Linked DNA regions of Homo sapiens: regions 2, 3, 4 and 5 are each linked to region 1. The links are contacts of gene promoters, found by promoter capture Hi-C in blood cells and fetal thymus (Javierre and others, 2016). All regions are on one chromosome and are shown on one strand. Each heading gives the region's core, a stretch centred on a gene start or on the middle of the fragment in contact. The rest is flanking DNA. Distances are from core to core; before and after follow the strand shown.

Region 1 (2,857 bases), core at 172-2,671:
CAAATAATATTTGAGCACCCACTTGGTGTCAGGCACTGCAGTAAGCACAGTGAATACACAGCAGAATCTGTGCCCACATACATCAACTAATTTATTTAATCAATCCTATGAACTGTTATTTTTGTCTCTAATTTATAGTTGAAGAAATTCAGGCTCAGAGAGGTTAAGTTACTAACCGAAGGTCATACAGTCAAGAGGCAGACAGGAGATTTCACCCAGGACCACTGGAACTCAAATCTGTGCTCTTCTCCACTGCATCCTGGTGCCAAGCCCACAACTCCAAAACTACAGCTTTCCTGGATCATTTCACAATGTCAGCTTCTCATCATGCAGATATCTCAAGTCCCCAAGCACTCTAGACGTCACTGATGACAGCAGGAAGAACAAGGCCTTCTACTTACTTTAGCCTTCACTTAATTCTAAAGTCAAATTTATGAGTCAGTGGGACAGGTATTATAATCCCCAAGTCTACAAAACTGAGGGAGAAGAAGGCTATCTTAGCCACTGTGAGAAACGGAAATAATCACAGAGCAAGAAGAAACACCAAGCAACTGATCTTTATCCAGCACAGCAAAGTGCATCTGCTCTTGAGCAAATCCAGGGCCCACCACTACTGTAAATGGAAACTGGTATGCCTTGCCAAAACAGAAAGTGGCCACAAAAATAAATGTTATTTAAGTGAAATAATCAGACGCAATGCAAGATCAGCGCTGAGCCTGAGTCCTGATCTCTGTTTAAGAGACATGAGCAATTGTTAGAGAAGAGTGAAGGTGTGTTAGAGAGGAGTTGGGGCAGTATGTCAGAACAAACGAGCACTACGTTTATTGAGAATAATCAGAAGAAATGAAAGAGCCTGTAAAGGAGACTACCTGCTTGGCTACGTGATTACATACATGTTATCTGATAAAGTGTCCACCCAAAATCATGTCCGGTGTCACTGTTTAGTGCTTGACACAAAGTAAGCTTTCAGTAAAGAACAGCTGTCGATGTCATTGTTTGGAATAACTGTTTTTCTCCATGTTATTGTTGGGATTGGATCGCAGAATAGCTGGTGCCATAAGACTGCCAACCTCAGCTCACCAGGCTTGTCCTTGTCACTTATCAGAGGAGTAAACTGAGACCCAGAGCCACGCGGTCGGCTAGTGGCAGGGCAGAGCCGGATACCCGGGCCCAGTGCGACGCTCGCGCCTCATCCTTTCTCCTTAAGGCGAGGACATCCTCCTCAAAGGGAGGGACCTCCCCCCGCAGACACCCGGGAGCTCCCAAACTCCCCGAAGCACTCACCTTCATGACTGCCAGGCCCGGAGGCCACCGAGACTCGGCCAGGGAGTCCATGGTCGCTCCCGAGGATGCTGGGGGTCAGCCACCCACTAGCCTCCGGCGCTCCAACACCACTCGAAATTCCCCGCGCTACCGCATTACGTCAGCAGCCCGCGACGCGCCAGAGGCGGGCGCGGAGCCTGCCGGAAGTTGTAGTAGTATGTGGGCGGGGCGCCGCTTAAGGGCTTGTACTGCGCATGCGCCAGGCTTCTGCCGCACTTACCTTGAAGAAAGTGAATGGTTAAAAAGCGTAGAGCCAGTTGAATATTAAGAAAAGATAGCCAGGAATCAAACCAAATCCAGACCTCACCAGATCTGTCAAGGTCCAGGCTCATGACCCCCCTCCGGGTCGCCCACCCTAATCGCAGTGACTATCCGTCCTTGCTCTGAACAGAAGTTTTTATATCCATTACTTTATGTCTCCCGTATCACAACACTGGGAGGTAGATGTTATCATTGTCAGTTTACACAAGAGAAGCCTACGCCCGAAAAAGTGGATAGAGTTTCGAGTCAGATTCCAAACAGGACCTCTGGGCTTTAAATGGGAGCTGTTGCTTTTATTCATATTAAAATTTTAATGCACGGTTTTTCTTTTTCTTCGGAGAGAAGCACCATTAACTTTGGCATATAGCCTTCTAGATATTTCCTATGCAGATTGACGAAGATTCTTTGCTTGAGCAAACTTTAGTCAGGCTCCTGAACCTTCTCCTAGGCCAATCTGTGTACTTCCTGTAAAAATCCAGTTTTAGCAAAAAACCCTGCTAAATCAAGTTACCAAGAATCCCCACCTTTGATATGTGATCACTCTTGATATCTGATGTGTTCCTCATCCTCCACCATCCCCCAGTTGATGTCTGATCACCCTGGCCTCTTCAGCAAGAATCTACTGTTACCTCTGATGTTTCCTCTTAGTAATTTTTCATGCACTGCTCCCCACCCTGCTTCCTGGCTATAAATTTCCATTTGCCCATGTTGTATTCAGAGTTGAGCCCAGTTTTCACCAATTGCAAGACACAGTTCCAGTGGTCTCTATACCTACTTGAATTGTCCTGATTAAGTCTTCCTTATTGTGCTTTAACAAGTATCATTGAACAATTTTTTTCTTAAACGAGATATAAATATAGATACTTTTTTTCATACATGTTATATTAAATGCATGAGGAATGGAGGTTTACGGTGTCCACCCCCGCCCCCCACTTTGTATCAGCCAATCATAGAACGGCATGCAAATGAACGCAAATGAATGCCAGGCTGAGCTGGAAAATGTCGGATAGTTCTGGATGTGGAGGAAGTGGGGTCTTGGAGAGACAAAGGAAAAGCATTTAAGACCAGGTCCGTGGCCTGAGTGAACCAGTAATTGTTTTTTTCACACTACTAGTTGGACAAGGTAATTAGGTTTAAGGTGACAAATGGCTGGGAAGGTGAGAGAGGAAGAGAGAGGAGATGAGAAAAAAGAGAAAGAATGGGTAAGGAGAAAGGGAGAGAGAGAAAAGACAGGGACAGGAATGTACTTTTTGCATTCAACCATGGAGACAGA
Region 2 (2,857 bases), core at 248-2,747, 970 kb after region 1:
ACAAAAATTAGCCAGGCATGGTGATGTGCGCCTGTAGTCCCTGCTACTTGGGAAGCTGAGGCAGGAGAATCACTTGAACCCAGGAGGCGGAGGTTGTGGTGAGCTGAGATCACACCACTGCACTCCAGCCTGGGCAACAGAGTGAGATTCCATCTCAAAAAATAAAAAAATAATAAAAATTTAATTATCCAAGGTCTCTTGTGCTTGCCATACTGCTAAGACACAATGGTAGGCACTCATTAAAAGTCTGTTGAATGGGCCAGGCGCGGTGGCTCACGCTTGTAATCCCAACACTTTGGGAGGCTGAGACGGGTGGATCACTTGAGGTCAGGAGTTCGAGACCAGCCTGATCAATGTGGTGAAACCCCATCTCTACTAAAAATACAAAAATTAACCAGTTAGCCGGCCGTTGTGGCATGTTCCTGTAATCGCAGCTCCTCAGGAGACTGAGATGGGAGAATCGCTTGAACCTGGGAGGTGGAGGTTGTAGTGAGCCAAGATTGCACCACTGCACTCCAGCCTGGGCGACAGAGCGAGACTCTATCTCAAAAAAAAAAAAAAGTTTGTTAATGAAGATGTTGCCAGTGCCCAGCATTATGTTTGCTGGAAGAATAGATGTGAGCACCTCCAGGTTTTGTAAAAGGCAGGAAGACCCAGCAAGTGTTTGTGAAATACCTGCTGAATGAGTGCATCCCCACTGTCCAGCAGAGGGCCAGGCACATGCCCATGGAGGGGACCTGAGCAGACCCCCATTTCCTTTCCAGGTGTGGCCTCTGGAACCTGACTCCGTTAGGACGAACATCTGCCCCTTCAGGGAGGGTGAGCCGACCGGCCTGGGGCTGGGGTTGGGGTGTTGCGAGCGATGGGTACCTGGCCTGCGGTGACTGTGCCCTTTCCTTGCAGACCCCCGCGCACACCAGAACCTCTGGCAAGCCGCCCGACTGCAACTGCTGACCCTGCAGAGCTGGCTGCTGGACGCACCGTGCTCGCTGCCCGCAGAAGCGGCACTGTGCTGGCGGGCTCCGGGTGGGGACCCCTGCCAGCCACTGGTCCCACCGCTTTCCTGGGAGAACGTCACTGTGGACGTAAGTGAAGCAGAGGGCACCTCCCGTGGTGAGGGGAGAGTGGGGAACCGGGGGTCCCCTTTTGTGATCCCACCCATTCCTCTCTTTCCACAGAAGGTTCTCGAGTTCCCATTGCTGAAAGGCCACCCTAACCTCTGTGTTCAGGTCAGAAAGGGGTGCATAGTGCTGGGCTGGAGGCTGGACCTGGGCAGACCCCCCAGCCAAGGGGGTCTTAGTTCTTGGGCCGCTAAAGCATAGTGGTTGCCAGCTTCCTCTATGGGAGTTCCACTGCCTACTTTAGTAGTGCGCGGGACCCTGGGCAACTCACTTCACCTCTCTGAACGTCAGTTTCCTCATCTGTTTAATGCAGATGATAATACAGTAACTACCTCATGGAGTGGTTGTGACAATGAAATAAGAGAAGTGCTTCCCCTTAGGAATCGGTACAGACTAAATGCTCCATAAATGTAGCCACTTTTATTATTGCTATCCTTATTCTATTTCCATACCTGTAGAATGGGTTGCTCTACAGTTTCAAAGGGTGATTATAAGAACATTCACTCATCCGGCCAGGCGCGGTGGCTCACGCCTGTAATCCCAGCACTTTGGGAGGCCGAGGCGGGCAGATCACGAGGTCAGGACATCAAGACCATCCTGGCTAACATGGTGAAACCCCATCTCTACTAAAAATACAAAAAATTAGCCGGTCGTGGTGGTGGGCACCTGTAGTCCCAGCTACTAGGAAGGCTGGGGCAGGAGAATGGCGTGAACCTGGGAGGCTGAGCTTGCAGTGAGCTGAGAGGGCGCCACTGCACTCCAGCCTGGGTGACAGAGTGAGACTGGGCGACAGAGTGAAACTCCGTCTCAAAAAAAAAAAAAATTCACTCATTCAAGATTTTTTGAGCAGCACAAGTCACTGTTTTAGGCACTTGTGATAGACCCTAACATCTCTACCCTCATAGAACTTATATTGTAATGGAGAAAGGCAGGCAACAGACATTGTAAATAAATCATATAGTATCTTAAAATTGCATACAAATACCATGGGAAAGGGATAAGGTGGGACTGGGGTTGCAATTTTTAGCAGGGTGGTCATGTGAGAAAGGAATCTCTTTGAGAAGGTTAGATGAGAGGGGAACCATGCTCCGTAAGACATAAAAACAGCTTTAGGGTCAGAAGACGCTTTATACAGATGATCTCACAAGGCTGGGGCAGAGAAAGATGTAGTGATTCCTAATCACCCAGCCTTGAATCCACATCTGCCTCAGGTCAGATTGAGTGCAGATTCCCAACCCAACAGGCCTTCTGTTGCCTGCCCCATTCTGGTCTTTCTGCCTTTGGCTTTTGCTTTTCTTAGTGGCCCTAACCATGGTCTCTTCCCAGCAGGTGAACAGCTCGGAGAAGCTGCAGCTGCAGGAGTGCTTGTGGGCTGGTGAGTTGGGCCTGGGGGCAGCTGGGGCAGGGCCACCTCCTAGGGGTGAAGGTCAGGGCATGGGAGGCAGGCAAGTGGCCAATCCCAGCAAGGATGGGTCTTGGTCAGAGTGGCCTCTCACCCCTTCCAGACTCCCTGGGGCCTCTCAAAGACGATGTGCTACTGTTGGAGACACGAGGCCCCCAGGACAACAGATCCCTCTGTGCCTTGGAACCCAGTGGCTGTACTTCACTACCCAGCAAAGCCTCCACGGTTAGGACTGGGCGACCCTCCTCCACAGATCTCTCCAAATGCATCTCACATCTGGCCTCAAATTTTCACTCCATCCACCCTGTGCCGGTCTCTGGGAACATGGGGGGTG
Region 3 (2,857 bases), core at 180-2,679, 690 kb after region 1:
GGTGTGAGCCACCGCGCCCAGCTGGGTAAACTTAGTTTCCGTAAATCTTTAAGCTAAAGTTTCTGAACAAGAGGGTTTTGTTTTGTTTTGTTTTCTTTGTTTTTGCCTTGCCATTCTCTTCGTTCCCCTTCTTCCTACCCTCTTTGGTGCTGGCTGGCTGGTGGTTTTACCTCTGTGCCCTGATGATGACATTCTGATATTAAGCTCAGCTGTAATCAAGGTGGGTTTTTTTGTTTTTGTTTTTGTTTTTAATTAAGACGGGGTCTGGAATGCAGTGGCACAATCATGGCTTGCTGCGGCCTTGATCCCCTGGGCTCAAGTGATTCTCCCACCTCAGCCTCCCAAGTAGCTGGGAATATGGGCACATACCACCACTCCCAGCTGATTTTTTTTAATTTTTAGTAGAGACCAGGTCTCGCTGCATTGCCCAGGTGGGTCTCCTGAGCTCAACAGATTTCCTCACCTCGGCCTTTCAAAGTGTTGGGATTAGAGGTGAGAGCCACCGCACCCAACAGAGTGGTTCTTTTCTATGTTGATTTTATGAGTGAATCAACTGGGGATCTTTCTACAATGCAGAGATTCAGAAGACCTGAGGTGGGCCTGCGATTTGGCATATTCTAACAAGCTCTCAGGTAATACCAAATGTTACCCTTCAGTAACATAATAGTACATTGAGAAACGTAGTGGTGGTTGCCTTGTAAAAGCTTTTCCTGGAAGGAAACAAGTTTAGTGTTGATCCCTTAAAGAGACTGAAACTAGTATTTGTTGAGTACCTCTGTTTGGCAGGTGTTGAGGTTTTACTTGCTAGCTTAAGCCCTACAACTATTCAGTGAAGAAGACAGTATCACCACTCTTTTTTTTTTTCAATTTGATATGGAGTCTTGCTGTGTCGCTGAGGCTGGAGTGCAGTGGCGCAAGTGATCTTGGCTCACTGCAACCTCTGCCGCTCAGGTTCAAGTGATTCTCCTGCCTCAGCCTCCCTAGTAGCTGGGATTACAGGCGCGTGCCACCATGCCCGGCCAATTTTTGTATTTTTAGTAAAGACGGGGTTTCAACATCTTGGCCAGGCTGGTCTTGAACTCCTGACCTCGTGATCCACTGGTCTCGGCCTCCCAAAGTGCTGGGATTACAGGTATGAGCCACCGCGCCTGGCCCTCACCACTCTTTTATAGATGAAGTTGAAGCCCAGAGAAGTAATTTGCCTTTGCCGAAGATCACAGAGGTAGTAAGCAGAGTGGGGTTAAAAGCTGTATTTCCTGACTCTGTACCTGTCTGCCTTATCTTTCACCACCACGGCTCTCCCACCTTGTCTAGCAGAACCTCACAGTTAGGCCAAGGCCACTGTGGAACATGATTAACCTTAGAGGAGCTTGTTGGAGTTTGTTTTTACTTTTCACTCCTTGCAAGGCCTTAAAGTGTTACTGAAGTGATGTTGAGTGGGTGATGCCTGCTTGTTGAAAGGGGGGACTTCGGGTATGTTTGGGTGGGAAGAAATAGCATTTTTTGCTTTTTTACTGTCTGGCTTGGCTGTTACTATGATGCTGAATTAAACTGAATAGACTGAATAAAAAATAGACTGAATTAAACAGGGTAGAATTGGATTTAAGCAATGTTTTGGTCCTGTTAAGGAACCTCTCCAATTTGGTTCATCATCTGGGAATAGAAGCCTGGACAGGGATCTCTGAATAGCTAAGACATGTTTGTCAACAGTGTTCGTTCAGCTGCTGCTGTGTAGTAGACCTCAGGGATCAAGTTGGAAGCCAGATAGATGAAGTCCTTACCAGTAGGTCTAGTGGGAAACAGAGTCCAATAAAGAAGCAATAATTGTTAATAAAAGCTGGAATTAGGGGAAGTACAGGTGAGGCCCTGCCGGATAGTGGTTAAAACCATGGGCCCAGTGGCTACCCACAGGGTTTAGAATCTCAGCTACCCTGTTTACCTGTTCTGTGACTTTGGGCTAGAGATTTCATCTCATTAAACTACCTCATCTGTAAAATTGGGTAAGTGAGGACTGAGTGAGATAATGTGGGTGTAAGCTCTACTTTGTGCCTCTTATCTATTAAATAGTAGCAGCAGTAACATTTATCTCAGGAAGTTGTGGGGTACATTATAGGAACAAGCCACCCAGTTTGGTAAGTGTGGTGCCTGTCTGGGAAAGCTTCCTATTGGAAATATGTGATAACAGCATTTTCTTCTGTATTTGAAAATAGTTTGGCTGGGCATGGTGGCTCACGCCTATAATCCTAGTTACTTGGGAGGCCGAGATGGGCGTTTCGCTTGAACCCAGGAGTTTGAGACTGAATTAAACTGAATAGACTGAATAAAAAACAGACTGAATTAAACAGTCTGGGCAACATGGTGACACCTTGTCACTACAAAAAATACAAAGCATTAGCCAAGCATCGTGGCATGTGCCTGTAGTCCCAGCTACCTGGGAGTCTGAGGTGGGAGGATCACCTGAGCCCAGGAGGTCAGCTGCAGTGAACCATGGCGCCACTGCACTGCAGCCTGGGCAACAGAGGAAGACCTTGTTGGGAAAAAAACAACAAAATCTCACTACCTGGTAACATCTTGCCAGAAATTTCAGTGCATACATTACAAATGTAAATACAGAAGCCTACATTCATCCCTTCGAATGTGAGTATTATGTGCCAGACACAGCTCAGTGCTTAGCACTGCAATAAAAGAATCCTAAGGACAAGAGATAATAAAAACAGGAAAAAGTGAGAGAACAGAAACTGAATTGGTTCTTTTTTTTTTTTTTTTTAAGACGGAGTCTCATTCTGTTGCCCAGGCTGGAGTGCAGTGGCGTGATCTCTGCTCACCGCAACCTCCGCCTCCTGGGTTCAAGCAATTC
Region 4 (2,857 bases), core at 256-2,755, 530 kb after region 1:
CAAAGGTTGCAGTGAGCTGAGATCATGCCACTGCACTCCAGCCTGGCAACAGAGTGAGACTCCATCTCAAAAAAAAAAAGAGATAGCCAGGCATGGTGGTGCCTATGGTCCCAGCTACCTGGGAGAATGAGGTGGGAGGATTGCTTGAGCCTGGGAGTTGAGGCTACAGTGAACTGTGATCTCACCACTGCACTCCAGCCTGGGTGACAGAGCAAGACCCTGTCTCAAAAAAATAAAAATAAATTATGCAGGCCAGGTGCAGTGGCTTATGCCTGCAATCCCAGCACTTTGGGAGGCTGAGGCGGGTGGATCACTTGAGACCCGGAGTTTGAGACCAGCCTGGCCAACATGGTGAAATCCCATGTCTACTAAAAATACAAAAATTAGCCGGGTGTGGTGGTGCACACCTGTAATCTCAGCTACTCAGGAGGCTGAGGCAGGAGAATCACTTGAATCAGGGAGGCTGAGGTTGCAGTGAGCTGAGATTGTGCCACTGCACTGCAGCCTGGGCAACAGAGGGAGACTCCATCTCAAAATAAATAAATAAAACAAATGATGCAGTCTCAGGTATGGCTTTATAACAATGCAGAAATGGGCTAACAGTCTACCCCTAATCCAGCCCCCTAATGCTACCACCAGAGTGCTCTTTCTAAAATGCAAATTGAGTCATTTTTCCTTCTGCTTCAAATCCTTCAGTGGTTCCCCATTGCTCTTAAGTCCAAACTCCTGTCCATGGCCCCCAAGCTTTCTCATGGTCTGGCCCTCGCCTGTCTCTCTAGACTCATCTCTGACTCCTCCCTGCCTCGTACTTCACATTTCAAACTAAGTTGCTTTTCGTCCTCCATACACAGTTCTGCTGCCTACCTCAGTCTTTTTCCTCAAGCTGCCTTCTCTTTGACCTTCCTGACCCCTCCTGCCTAACTTCTCATCCTACAGCAAGACCTCCTCCTACGCTGCCCACGTCACCAAAAGCCATTTAAAGTATTCCTGCCTAGGATACCCACAATACCCTGCATGTGGCAAGTCATGCGTTATTTTCACATGTTCATCTCCCCAACCAGAATTATGCTTAAGACAGCATCTCTGTTTTGCTCATTTTTTTTCTAGCTTAAGTGCTTAGCATACACTAAGTGCTTAAAATGTGTTGGAAGAGGACTCCATTTCCAAGTCTTCAATGTAGCTACCTGGTACTGCGCACATTACAGCGTGCCAGATACCCTGCAGAGCAAAGTGCATATATTCCCTGGTATGTTGCTTACAGCTTCCCTTGGGGGAGTCACTATTGTTTTCTCTATTTATTCAATGGGGCTTTAGAGAGAGGCAAAGTGACTGGACTGAGCACTCTGGCTAGAGCAGATGAGGCTCTACTCTTTTCTGCCTGTATGGACTTGGACAAGTCGTGCCTGTGCTGTCAGAGGTGTGCAGAGATTACTGTATCCCTCTCTCTATTCACTCCTTTCTCCTTTGTATCAGAACCCTATTTTTTTTTTTTTTTGAGACGGAGTCTTGCTCTGTTGCCCAGGCTGGAGTGCAATGGCGCCATCCCACCTCCCTGCGACCTCCGCCTCCTGGGTTCAAGCAATTCTCCTGCCTCAGCCTCCTGAGTATCTGGGATTACAGGCACGCACCACCATGCCTGGCTAATTTTTGTATTTTTAGTAGAGACAGGGTTTTGCCATGTTGACCAGGCTGGTCTCAAACTCCTGACCTCAGGTGATCCACCCACCTCAGCCTCTGAAAATGCTGGGATTACAGGCATGAGCCACCTTGCCCGGCCAAGAACCCCAGTTTTATTTGGGCTGGCAATGCGCCGAGATAACAGACCACACTTTTTCAGCCTCCTTTACTGTTATGTGGCCCAAGTGACACAGTCCTATGGAATTTCCAGAAGTCTTCAAATGAAATGTGGACCAGGTGACTGGAGCTCCAGCAGCCCACGTTGGGCCATGAGGTGTTCTTGAGGATGTAGCCAGGATTGAAAATGGCAGTGCAGAAAGATAGGAGCCTGGGTTCTGGATAACACTGAGAGCCATATCAGCCGTGATCTACCCACCTCCAGGCTTTTTTTTTTTTTTTTTTTTTTTTTAATGTGATGGTAAAATAAACTATCTTGTTAAGCCACAGTAGTAGGGTTCTGTTAATACCAGACAAACCTGATCCATAGGGTTGGAATCTTACCCCTCTTGATCCCAGTGACTCAGAGAAGTGGCAGCCAGCGTGGGTGATAGAAAGTGTTTCTTTATTTGAATGTCATTCCACCTGCACTGAAGCTTAAACCCAGCAGCAGCAGAAGGGGTCAGGACCAAAATAAATGTTACCAAATTAGACAATGAACAGCGAGGACACACTCAGACAAAACTTACTAATGGGGTATAGACAACACCAAGCTATCCTAACAGCACACAGCACAGGCCCTCGGAGGCCTGCCCATCAGAGCTCTGCGGAAGGCTCCCTTGTTCCCTGTTCAGGAAACTCCAGTCCCACCCAAAGGTTAGCCGTGGGCCAGGCAGGGGCCTGCAGAAGTTTCTGGTGCTGGGAACATCCCAGCTTCTCCAAAGACAGGGTTTCCCTTTCTCTTTCTCAGTTCACACTGGAAGCTGGAGAAAGGTTATTCCCCGTGTGCCCAAGCAGGATGCTCAAAAGGCCAGGGACTCTCCCCACAGCCTTATCTAAAAGTTCTCATCATCTTGGCTATCAGGCCTGAAAAGGATCTTGATTCTTTGGTCCTCACCCCCTCAGGAAAGTTTTCCTTCATGGGTACCGGTCCCCAAAGACGAAAGTTTTCATAGCCCCGGTTCCCAGAAGGACTCAACTGACCAGACTGTGGGCCAGGGACTGAACCACCCCTAGGCTGTGG
Region 5 (2,857 bases), core at 140-2,639, 520 kb after region 1:
CTTGGCCTCATTCATTCAGCAACTATTTATTGGTCTTTTTCATTCAAAAACAATGCTGGACATTGTTTTTGGTGCTGGGCTTATGGTGATTAGAATGCTGATTGGGGGTGGGCAAAGTAAGGTCTCTTCTTTCATGGAGTTTACATTCTAGTGGAGGAGAGAACTAAACTAGTATATAATTTTAAATAGTCATTGCCATGTTAATTGTTTCATAGCAGATATGTGACTAAGACAGTTGAAGGAGCCACTCTAGATTGGTTGGTCAAGAAAAGTCTCTGAGGAGTTGACATTTAAACTGAGACTTCAGTGACAAGGAGGCAGTCCTGGGACGATGTGAGTGAAATTCATTCTTGAACGTTGCAGACTCTGTGGTAGAAAAAGCTTGGTTAAGATGTAATAAATGGATGGGGCTGGGAAAGAGGATAGAAGATCCTGTAAGAGGGAGATAGGGGACAGATCATGTAGAGCAGGAGTCGGCAAACTCTTTCTATAAAGGGCCAGATAGTAAATATTTAGACTTTGCAAGCCATGTATGGTCTCTGTCATAACTATTCAGCCCTTTGGCTGGGTGCGAATCATGCCTGTAATTCCAGCACTTTGGGAGGCCCAAGAGAGCAGATCACTTGAGGTCAGAAGTTCGAGACCAGCCTGGCCAACATGGCAAAACCCTGTCTACTAAAAATACAAAAATTAACCAGGTGTGGTGGTGCGCACCTGTAATCCCAGCTACTCAGGAGGCTGAGGCAGGAGAATCTCTTGAACCTGGGAGGAGGAGGTTATAGTGAACCAAGGTCACTCCACTGCACTCCAGCCTGGGTGATGGAGCGAGACTCTGTCTCAAAAAAAAAAAAAAAAAAAAAAAAAAAAACAACTATTCAGCTCTTCCATTGCAGTGCAAAAGCAGGCATAGACAGTATGTGGCTATGTTCCAATAAAACTTTATTTACAGGAAACAAGTGGCAAGTTGGATTTGGTTTGCAGGCTGTAGTTTGCTGGTCTCTAATGTAGAACCTTGTAGGTATAATTTAAATAATCTGCATTCAGTAAGTACAGTGGAGGAGTCATTGCAGGATTTTAAGGAGAGAAGTGACATTGTCTAATTTATATTTGGTTGATTTTTAAAAATTACTCTGATTGTTTTGATCCTGTTGGTGAAGAGATGAATAGGAGCTGAGAAACTGGTGTGGAAGGTAGAGCAGTTGTTCAGGCAAGCAACAATGCAGTGGTGGCTTCTATTAAGACGGTAATGATGGGGATAAGAAGTGATTGGAGTCAGGATATGTTTTGCAAGTACACAGCAGAACTTGCCAATGGATTGAATTGGCAGTATTCTAACATTTGTTTGACAAATGTTTACTGAGTAACTAAGGTAGACTGCAGTTTGCAAAGCACATAAGGGATTCAAAGATGAAGATGCTATTTATTAGTTGAAGGAGTTTAGAAATGGAAGGCTGGGCGTGGTGGCTCATGCCTGTAATCCCAGCACTTTGGGGGGCCAAGGCAGGCGGATCACAAGATCAGGAGTTTGAGACCAGCCTGAACAACATGGTGAAACCCTGTCTCTACTAAAAATACAAAAATTAGCCGGGCGTGGTGGTGCGTGCCTGTAATCCCAGCTCCTTGGGAGGCTGGGGCAGGAGAATCGCTTGAACCCAGGAGGCAGAGGTTGCAGTGAGCCGAGATCGTGCCACTACACTCCAGCCTGGGCGACAGAGCGAGACTCCGTCTCAAAAGAAAATAGAAAGTGGAAACATAACAAAACCACTTGTTTTATTAGAAGATCCCTCCAAAATGCCCTAGGAATACCTAGGTAACCTACCACCAACCACAACCTGATTCTACCTGGGTTAGGAAGAGAATAGTGTGCATGATCTTTAGAAAGTGTTTCCATATACAGTGTCTTATTTTGACTCATAATTCTGTGAAGAAAGCAAGCCAAATGCCAGAAGTTAAAGATGAGAAATTGAGACCTAGTACAGTGTTTCAGCTATAGCACTGGGCTTCTGATAATGAATAAAACTAACTGATTTCTGCCATAATTGGAAGGTTCTGTTCCATGACCATTGGCTGAACACCTACTGTGTGCTAGGCTATATCTGAGGTGCTGAGAATATCAAGGTAAGACAGTCAACTGCCCATTCAGAGTTAACCTATTTGCTATTCTTTTCAAGTACTTACTGTGTTGCTAGGGACTTTGCTTTTGATATGGTGTAAATCAGAGGTGTCCAATCTTCTTGGCTTCCCGGGGCCACACTGGAAGAATTATTCAACATGTAAAATACACTAACAATAGCTAATGAGCTTAAAAATATATATATATTTTAAGAAAGTTATGATTGTGTTAGGCCGCATTCAAAGCCATCCTGGGCCACGTGCAGCCCGTGGTCTGTGGGTTGGACAAGCTTGGTGTAAATAGAAGCTAGACAATATTAATTAAAGAGGCCAGTGCAACAGTGGCACCTTCTATGTCACTTTACACTTTCCTGGACTCCACTTAAGTCATCAGCTACCTCATTTACATGTAACAATGTGCAAGGTAGGTATAAGTTCAGAAGATACAACTTATTCAAGATTTCTCTCTTTTAAGTGGCAGACCCAAACCAACAGTTTTGGAAATTTTGCAGTTAACCCAGAAAACAAATAGAAACAGCTAGAGATGCTGTGACACTATGACCAGAAATCACTTACCTAGCTGAAAAAGTATATGGTACCCTTTACTGTCTTAAAAACAGCAGTCTGGCCCTTTTGCCCCCCAGGTGTCAGTTTGACAGTGTAGGGTTCTCTGTTTAGCAGAGGTTACCATGAAGAAAAAAAAAAAATGCAGTTGTCCAAACGAAGCAGGCCCTTTGCTTTTAAA

What was found. The method cuts DNA at HindIII sites, captures the fragments that hold promoters and counts their contacts. A CHiCAGO score of 5 or more calls a contact.
Region 2: a fragment that was not itself captured here is called in contact with the fragment with the promoter of RAD18 in region 1 in 1 of 17 cell types (neutrophils); the score reaches 5.1 in neutrophils.
Region 3: a contact is called between a fragment that was not itself captured here and the fragment with the promoter of RAD18 in region 1, in 2 of 17 cell types (total CD4 T cells and naive CD8 T cells). The highest score is 5.5, in total CD4 T cells.
Region 4: a contact is called between a fragment that was not itself captured here and the fragment with the promoter of RAD18 in region 1, in 3 of 17 cell types (erythroblasts, total CD8 T cells and M0 macrophages). The highest score is 6.2, in erythroblasts.
Region 5: a fragment that was not itself captured here is called in contact with the fragment with the promoter of RAD18 in region 1 in 2 of 17 cell types (erythroblasts and activated CD4 T cells); the score reaches 5.4 in erythroblasts.

Annotation. Positions count from the first base shown.
Region 1 is chr3:8,962,051-8,964,907 of GRCh38, forward strand. RAD18 (RAD18 E3 ubiquitin protein ligase) reads right to left here and starts at 1,422. Exons shown (of 13, transcript NM_020165.4): 1 at 1,285-1,422. The coding sequence starts at 1,335. RefSeq lists an enhancer at 1,270-1,439. The HindIII fragment of the contact is 5,728 bases long and covers 962-2,857 here.
Region 2 is chr3:9,927,402-9,930,258 of GRCh38, forward strand. IL17RC (interleukin 17 receptor C) reads left to right here. Exons shown (of 19, transcript NM_153460.4): 10 at 765-819; 11 at 904-1,085; 12 at 1,179-1,229; 13 at 2,451-2,496; 14 at 2,627-2,748. Among named protein-coding and RNA genes, the nearest start is that of CRELD1, 5.0 kb to the right of the region's middle. RefSeq lists an enhancer at 962-1,461. The HindIII fragment of the contact is 6,275 bases long and covers 1-2,857 here.
Region 3 is chr3:9,656,695-9,659,551 of GRCh38, forward strand. All of the region lies in intron 2 of MTMR14 (myotubularin related protein 14), which reads left to right. Among named protein-coding and RNA genes, the nearest start is that of MTMR14, 8.6 kb to the left of the region's middle. The HindIII fragment of the contact is 1,454 bases long and covers 703-2,156 here.
Region 4 is chr3:9,496,143-9,498,999 of GRCh38, forward strand. LHFPL4 (LHFPL tetraspan subfamily member 4) reads right to left here. Exons shown (of 4, transcript NM_198560.3): 4 at 2,219-2,857. Among named protein-coding and RNA genes, the nearest start is that of LHFPL4, 56 kb to the right of the region's middle. The HindIII fragment of the contact is 1,526 bases long and covers 743-2,268 here.
Region 5 is chr3:9,478,383-9,481,239 of GRCh38, forward strand. No RefSeq gene overlaps it. Among named protein-coding and RNA genes, the nearest start is that of LHFPL4, 74 kb to the right of the region's middle. The HindIII fragment of the contact is 2,021 bases long and covers 380-2,400 here.